Linked DNA regions of Homo sapiens: region 2 is linked to region 1. Evidence: promoter capture Hi-C in human tissues and cell types (Jung and others, 2019). All regions are on one chromosome and are shown on one strand. The core of a region is centred on a gene start or on the middle of the fragment in contact, and the rest is flanking DNA. Distances in the headings are between cores, read along the strand shown.

Region 1 (4,303 bases), core at 565-3,064:
TGCTCCTTGGTTGGCCTTTCTTGTTTTCTACGTAGATTTTTCTCCCCCTCCAACCTCTCTCTCCCTGACCATCAGAATGATTTATTTTCCTGCCATTGATGCCTGCCGGCCTGGGGGAGTCTGATCAGTTAGTCTATTTCAAAGGAAGCAAAAGCGAATCACCATCCTCAGGGTTTGGGGGGGAAAGAGGTACCTCCAGATCTACCTCTCAGCCTCCTCACCTCTTTCTGGCTTGGTGGATTTTTTAAAAATTATTTTTTGGTACCTAAAGGTGTTATCTTTTGAACCCTCTAGCACTGTCCAAGATGCGCTCAGTCTCAAGTCTCCGAATTGGAAAAAAGATAATGAAGGAGAACGAAAACCTTTATAATTCCTCCTTGGGTCGCCTCCTCTCCCCCGCAGTGCTGTTTCCCACAACAGAACCCGGAAGCAAACATCCCCGGTGCCCAAGGATCAGGAAGGTGTGGGAGGCAGTTCAGGCTGCCAGGGAGCACTCGCTGTATCTAAACCAACCAGCCCCCAACCAGAGCGACAAGGACAAGAAGAAGGGTAGAAAAAAAAGAGAGAGGGAGGGAAAGAGAGGAGCAAGCATCTTCTCTTTCCCTGCTGGTAACTTCCAACAGACTTCCTGGAAATCGGAAATACTCACCGCACCCGAGCCCTACGGGTATGAAACCCAGAATGCCAGGAGCCGCACGCGCCTGCTCGGGGCGGCATTTCTTTGGCTGGCCGCCGCCCTGGCTACGGGGATTTGGACACATGGACCTGGGGTTGTTGTCTCGCTTGGCACATGCATCTTTCTCCAGCCACTCCTGAGAAGTTGATGGCGCAGGAAGGTCGGGAAGCTTCGAGAGCCGCCTCCCGTTTTCCGCTTCCCGCCGGAGCCAGATGCAAAGCTGCCGTGGAATAGCCTGCTAACAATGGGCCCGGGGCGCAGACTCTGGGCTGGACACTGGGAGGGGGGCGAGAGGCTGAGGGGAGAAGGGGAGGCGGACAGAAGAGAGAGGGAGGGAGAAAGGGGGAGAAGAGGAAAAAGAGGGAAAGGGACAGACAGGAAGGAAAACAGACCGAGAGAGATCAGTTTTGAGATCCAGGAACTGCTTTTAGGAAAAGTGAAGGAGGAAAAGGGAAAGAAAAGGAAGACCCCTTCCCAACCAAAATCTTTCCTTTCTTCTCTCTTTTCTGTCTTCTCTTTCTCCATCTCTCAAACTCTCTCTTCTTCCCTCTCTCTTTATTCTCCCTCTCTCATCTCCTCTCTTCCTCTGCTCCTTTCTCCTGCTTTAACAGAACTTATGTGGCTGGGACGCAGGGCCCTCGGGTGTCAAAACTTTGAAGATTAATGGATTACTTTGTTAATGACTGCAGGCGTCAGACTGAGGTGCTTAAATGATTTGTGAGGTGCGAGGCGTCTTCCCGACAGTCCCAAACAATGCGCGGAGTGTGCGGGGGAGGCAGAGGGCAGCCACCGGCGGGACCGACAGCAGGGCTTACACTCGCGCACATTCACACACACACACACACACTCCCAGGCACACACACTAGATAGATCCTTGCAGATCAGGAGGCACGCAGGCACCCTCGCCCCCACGTACTCCGGGACATCCCCACCCACACCAACATATATGTATTTTTGCTCTGAAAAAAGTGTAAATAAAGCCTCGCTGGCCCCCAATGAGGCGTTCCTTCCCGACTTTTTTGGATCAATCAAACAGACAGTGGCTTCTTTTGATTAAAGCCCAAATTGTCATTGGGCAGAAGCAATCATGTGACAGCCAATTCGGTCCAATTTCAACCTTGTCTCCATGAATTCAATAGTTTAATAGTAGCGCGGTCCCCATACGGCTGTAATCAGTGAATTAGAAAAAAAACACCCTAGCAGCGATATTCTATGATAGATTTTTTTTCCTCTGCGCTCGCCTTTTTCCTAGGCCTTGCCCCCCCAAAGCCCCTCCAAAAGAGGGAACTTTTTCTCTGAGGGGGCTCCAAGGAGAAGGCCATGAATTACGAATTTGAGCGAGAGATTGGTTTTATCAATAGCCAGCCGTCGCTCGCTGAGTGCCTGACATCTTTTCCCCCTGTCGCTGATACATTTCAAAGTTCATCAATCAAGACCTCGACGCTTTCACACTCGACACTGATTCCTCCTCCTTTTGAGCAGACCATTCCCAGCCTGAACCCCGGCAGTCACCCTCGCCACGGCGCTGGCGGCCGCCCCAAGCCGAGCCCCGCGGGCAGCCGCGGCAGCCCGGTGCCCGCCGGCGCCCTGCAGCCGCCCGAGTACCCCTGGATGAAGGAGAAGAAGGCGGCCAAGAAAACCGCACTTCTGCCGGCCGCCGCCGCCGCCGCCACCGCCGCAGCCACCGGCCCTGCTTGCCTCAGCCACAAAGGTCAGTCCAAAGACTTGGCCCCAGGTCTCTGGGACCCTCTTCCTTCTCCGGGCTGCCCCGAGAGTGGCTGTGGGGGGAGGGGAGAGTGGGCTGGGAGAGAAGGAGGAGAGGGAGAGATGCTTGGTTGCCTTGTCCCTGCCCCTGTGGGTTCAGGAGTGGGTTTGATGGAGAGGAAAGGGGATCCTGCGCTCTACAATGAGACATATATATTTTTAGGAAGTGGGGGGAAACTTTCCCGAACTTGTGTAATGTGGGATGATTTATTTGAGTTGGAACTGACCTCCTCCTGTCTAGTTGTCCTAGAGTTTGGCTTTTTGACAGTAATGAAGAGTGATAGATCGCTCTTGCTCAGCTAAGCAGCTGACGCATTAATTATAAATTGTGTTGTGGCTAATATAAAGTTTGCTCCCGGATGAAGAGGTTGGGGGGAGCCACAGGCATGAATTCGATAGAGATGGAGGAGACGGGGTCTGCCCAGGCTGGGCTCCCAGGAAAGGCAGCACAATAGCTCTACTGCATCCAGGGGCGGCCATTTTGTTGCAGTTGATCTTTTCTGCTATATTTATTCTCCAGTGGAATAACCCCGCTCGGACCCCTCCACCTCCAACTGTGCGTGTGTCTCTTGTTGGTTTCCCTTTCCGCAGAATCCCTGGAAATCGCCGATGGCAGCGGCGGGGGATCGCGGCGCCTGAGAACTGCTTACACCAACACACAGCTTCTAGAGCTGGAAAAAGAATTTCATTTCAACAAGTACCTTTGCAGACCCCGAAGGGTGGAGATTGCAGCGCTGCTGGATTTGACTGAGAGACAAGTGAAAGTGTGGTTTCAGAACCGGAGGATGAAGCACAAGAGGCAGACCCAGTGCAAGGAAAACCAAAACAGCGAAGGGAAATGTAAAAGCCTTGAGGACTCCGAGAAAGTAGAGGAGGACGAGGAAGAGAAGACGCTCTTTGAGCAAGCCCTTAGCGTCTCTGGGGCCCTTCTGGAGAGGGAAGGCTACACTTTTCAGCAAAATGCCCTCTCTCAGCAGCAGGCTCCCAATGGACACAATGGCGACTCCCAAAGTTTCCCAGTCTCGCCTTTAACCAGCAATGAGAAAAATCTGAAACATTTTCAGCACCAGTCACCCACTGTTCCCAACTGCTTGTCAACAATGGGCCAGAACTGTGGAGCTGGCCTAAACAATGACAGTCCTGAGGCCCTTGAGGTCCCCTCTTTGCAGGACTTTAGCGTTTTCTCCACAGATTCCTGCCTGCAGCTTTCAGATGCAGTTTCACCCAGTTTGCCAGGTTCCCTCGACAGTCCCGTAGATATTTCAGCTGACAGCTTAGACTTTTTTACAGACACACTCACCACAATCGACTTGCAGCATCTGAATTACTAAAAACATTAAAGCAAAACAAAGCATCACCAAACAAAAACTCCTTTGACCAGGTGGTTTTGCCTTCTTTTATTTGGGAGTTTATTTTTTATTTTCTTCTTGACCTACCCCTTCCCTCCTTTAAGTGTTGAGGATTTTCTGTTTAGTGATTCCCTGACCCAGTTTCAAACAGAGCCATCTTTTACAGATTATTTTGGAGTTTTAGTTGTTTTAAACCTAACTCAACAACCCTTTATGTGATTCCTGAGAGCAGTATGAGGCCTGCAAGAAAGTGATCATATAATTGTATCTTCACTTTCTTTTTATTTTTGTATTACATTGGGATGCATTGTCATGCATATTTTTTGTAGAATAAATTCTCCTTTGCTATAAGTAGCTTATTTTTCTCCCCCTCTTTTTTCAAGGCTCATAACGGGTTCTTTTTCTTCTTTTAGTCTAACTTCGTAAATAAAATTCGTCACAATTTATCCTCTTTTTTCAATTTTAATACATTTATTAAGGCGGCATGTTCAAAGTCTTCAATGGACAGCAACAA
Region 2 (4,303 bases), core at 452-2,951, 750 kb after region 1:
TTGCAGTGAGCTGAGATCACACCACTGCACTCCAGCCTCAACAAGAGAGACCCTGTCTCAAAACACTCATTCACTTACTCTTATTTAAAAAATAGAATTCAATTAGAAAACAAGCAAAAGATATGAAGAGACATTTCACCCAAATAGGGCATACAGATGGCAAACAAGCACGTAGAAAGATGTTCGACATCGTTAACCACTAGGGAAATACAATTAACCCTACAATGATATATCATACATACCTATTACAGTTTCCAGGGGGATTATCACTATTTTTTATTTTAGCCATTGTGATAGGTGTGTTTTTTAAAATTTTCCATCATAGCTTAGTTTGAATCTTTGTAGCACAGTAAAGATGAGTAGGTGTTAACTGTAAAAATATTTACTTAGATTACAGAAAGATCACAAAAGACGAAAGCTAATAAAGCAGAATGTCTAGGTGTTAAGTGAATACTAATTTTTCATAGCTTTGATGAGAATTTTCTAACATAAAAATGTAAACTTGTCTCAGTTTGTTCTTTTTCTTGGGACATTTTTTTTCCTATTTCAAAGTAGTGTTTTACATGTTCATGTATTTACACTGGAGACTCATTCATTCACTTAAAATATATTGTGCAACAACAATGCGCTAGGTACTTTTCCATACAACTAATGATTATAGAATTTACCAGTGTGGGCTGGGCGTGGTGGCTCAAGCCTATAATCCCAGCACTTTGGGAGGCCAAGGCAGGCAGATTACCTGAGGTGAGGAGTTTGAGAACAGCCTGGCCAACATGGTGAAACCCCGTCTCTGCTAAAAATACAAAAATTAGCCAGGTGTGGTGGCACACACTTGTAATCCCAGCTACTCGGGAGGCTGAGGCAGGAGAATTGCGTGAGTCTGGGAGGCGGAGGTTGCAGTGAGCAACTGAGATCGTGCCACTGCACTCCAGCCTGGCCGACAGACCAAGACTCTGTCTCCCCACCAAAAAAAAAAAAAAAAAAAAAAAGCATTTACCAGTGTGTTAATCACCAGAGTGCTATTCAGGACCCCCATATAACAATTTCACAACTAAAATCTAGCACATTTCATATACTATATTCTTTACAAATAACAAAATAGAAGGGCAAAAGGAATATATCAAGCAACCTTTCTTTATTTCCTAATAACAGCTGTAACAAATAACTTAAGAGACATATGACAAGGGATATTACTTGCCACTCTACAGCATGGAGTATGTTTAAATACCATCCTCTGGTGGTACTGAATGATGATTTTTTGAGAAGCTTTTATTACTTCAGGATAAACAACTGTGAATGAGATTTAGCTAGACCTGCCTTTTACATGACTTATAATAGCTCACAATGTTGCAAGTTTCTTTACACAAGTAGTATCCCAAATCAGCGAGTTACCTTTTCATATCTTGTAACACATCAGGAAAAGTGCAGAAAAAAAAAACCTCCTCTTCTGCAGTAAGAAATAATTGGCATCCACAAGGATGCAATCAGCAAAATCTAGAATGTGAAAACCTCCATAAGGCAAAAGATGCAATTTCTTCCACAAATAAATTGCAAAAGGGGGAAAAGAGAGAATTAAAGACTTTAAACAATGTATCAACCAAATGCAATGTGTGGTCCTTATCTGAATCCTAATTAAATAGAGAATTAGAACAACCAAGTATATAATTTTTTTCAAAATAATCAAGGTAATTTGCACATTGAATATTTGATGATATGAAGGAATTGTTTAATTATTTAACATGTGATTATGTGGTTCATTTTTTAAAAAGGTCATTTGTTAGAAATGCATACTGAAATATTTACAGATGAAATTATATAATATCTAGAATTTGTTTCCAAATAATTGACTGTGGTAGCAGGAGGAAATAGGTGGGGTGGGGATATAGCTCGGCTATGAGTTAATAATGAGTTAGTAAATTGTTGAAGCTGGTTGGTAGGTACACATATGGGGGTTCATTTTATTATCATCTCTACCTTGCGTATTTTTTTGTTTTGGGGGTTGAAGAGGCAAGGTCTTACTCCATTGCATAGGGTGGAATGTTGTGGCTATTGATGATCGCTCAATGCAGCCTTGAACTCCTGGGCTCAAGTGATCTCGCCTTGGCCAAGTAGCTGGAATTACATGCATGCACCAACACACCCAGCTTTATGCAATTTTTTAACACAAACAGGAGCATAACCTACATTTATAAATACTATTTTGTTTATTGGTTTATTCACTATACAATCTTTCAGAATCTTTTTATGTGAGCATATATATGTCAATGATATTTGTTTTAAAATAAACTTTTTATTTTAAACAGTTTTAGATATAGAGAAATTATGAAGATAGTACAGAGTGGTCCTACATATCCCACACCCAGCTTCCCCTATTATTAACATTTTATATTAGCATGCTGCCTTTGTAACAATTCATTAATCAATATTGACATGTTATTATTAACTGAAGTCCATACTTCATTAAGATTGCTGGTCGGGCACAGTGGCTCACACCTGTAATCCCAGCACTTTGGGAGGCCGAGGCGGGCGGATCACGAGGTCAGGAGATCTAGACCATCCTGGCTAACATGGTGAAACCCCGCCTCTACTAAAAATACAAAAAATTGGCTGGGCGTGGTGGCAGGCACCTGTAGTCCCAGCTACTCAGGAGGCTGAGGCAGGAGAATGGTGTGAACCCGGGAGGTGGAGCTTGCAGTGAGTCGAGATCGCACCACTGCACTCCAGCCTGGGCGACAGAGAGAGACTCGGTCTCAAAAAAAAAAAAAAACAAAAAAAAAAAACCAGACTGCTTGATTGCTTTAGTTTTCACCTAATGTCATTAATCTGTTGTTCCAGGATCCCACTCGAGATACATTATATTTGGTCATTGTGTTTCCTTGGGCTCCTCTTGGCTATGACAGCTTCTCAGGCATTCCTTGTTTTTCATGACCTTGACAATTTGAGGAGCCCTCGCAGGTATTCTGCAGATTTGTCTGATGTTTGTCTCATGATTAGATTGGTGTTATAGGTTTTTGGAAGGAAGGCTACCTATTTCAGAGGGTAAAGTGCCATTTTTATCACTTCCAGGTGATATCACTTCCACATGCTAGCAACATAACATCACTGTGGGTGTTAACAGTGATCACCTGGCTGAGGAAGTGTTTGTCAGATTTCTCCACTGTAAAGTTATTCTTTGTTCATTTCTTAACAATTCAAAGATGAATTTATGTTTACTAATTCTTTCTTTTCCTAAGCCACTTCTAATTTAATCAGAGCTGGTGAAGTATTTCTTGAAATGTGTTAGAACACTGAGCTGGAAGAGTGAGATATTAAACTATAAATTCTGTATGATCTCAATTTTCTAAAAATGACATATACATATATATAGAAAAAGACTAGAAAGAAATAGCTCAAAGTTTTATTTTTTCCTGTATACTTTTCCAAAAATGTTCTGCAGTGAACAATTATTTTAAAATCTGGAAGAAGAGTTAAGAAAAAAAAAAGGAATGAAGATCTTTCTCTGGGACAAGCTCAGAAAAAAATATCAGAGTCCTCACAGTACCTGTAACACTAATGTAGCGCTCAGAATGGTAACAGCCTTCTCTGAAACCTGGTGTGTATGTGTGAAGACAATATTCCCAGCTGCCTTTCTTTGCTTACAGAAGACTGTAAATTGCCTCTTATGGAAACTTAACTATTTTTTCAAACAGGAACACTTAATAACTGAGTATAACAGAGACTGAGAAAAATGGAGGGAGGGAGGGTGGGAGGGGAAAAAGGGAGGAAGAAAGGAGGGAGAGAGGAACAACAAATTTAGGTTTTGGGGAGTGAGAAAATGTTCTGTCTTGTTGCTTCCCATCAAAGTACCCAGCATCACAGGATCCTAGCTAATATTATTTATTTGTTAAAGGTATTCATCAGTTCCAGACCAGTCAGTTTCCAGTCAGTTTCCGAATATCAAAAGCATGCTTTCCTAGAGGAAGTCCAAAATATTACCATGGGTCAGCATAAGCATATCTTAGACATATTAATATTAACCTTAGGGGCTGCTCATCCAAAATGGCAACACATCCCTCCCTGCCGGCTCTCCCCATAGTGCCCCATCTCCTCCCTCAGTGGTGGGGTCCTCATGGTTTGTGCAACTCTCTGGGGCCCACTTCGGCCTGTCCTACTCAGGATATTCCCTGCCAAAGAAGTGATGGATATATCATCGCTAAGGTGTCAATAACTGGAGTTGCCTAGAAGCTGCTGTTATACCTAGTATGAAGCATGTGCATTTGGGAAGGGGAAAATCAGTTATCCTAAAGGGATGAATCTCTAAAAG

Evidence for each region. Contacts are between HindIII fragments. The study calls those that stand out against the background at their distance.
Region 2: a contact is called between a fragment that was not itself captured here and the fragment with the promoter of HOXA2 in region 1, in 1 of the 25 tissues and cell types used here (mesenchymal stem cells).

The regions. Positions count from the first base shown.
Region 1 is chr7:27,100,194-27,104,496 of GRCh38, reverse strand. HOXA2 (homeobox A2) reads left to right here and starts at 1,814. Exons shown (of 2, transcript NM_006735.4): 1 at 1,814-2,387; 2 at 3,032-4,143. The coding sequence starts at 1,997. The coding sequence ends at 3,771. It overlaps HOTAIRM1 (HOXA transcript antisense RNA, myeloid-specific 1), which reads right to left. Exons shown (of 2, transcript NR_038367.1): 2 at 4,239-4,303. RefSeq lists an enhancer at 1,140-1,979. The HindIII fragment of the contact is 9,606 bases long and covers 1-3,880 here.
Region 2 is chr7:26,350,124-26,354,426 of GRCh38, reverse strand. The region is part of intron 2 of SNX10 (sorting nexin 10); the gene reads right to left. Among named protein-coding and RNA genes, the nearest start is that of LINC02981, 46 kb to the left of the region's middle. The HindIII fragment of the contact is 3,338 bases long and covers 33-3,370 here.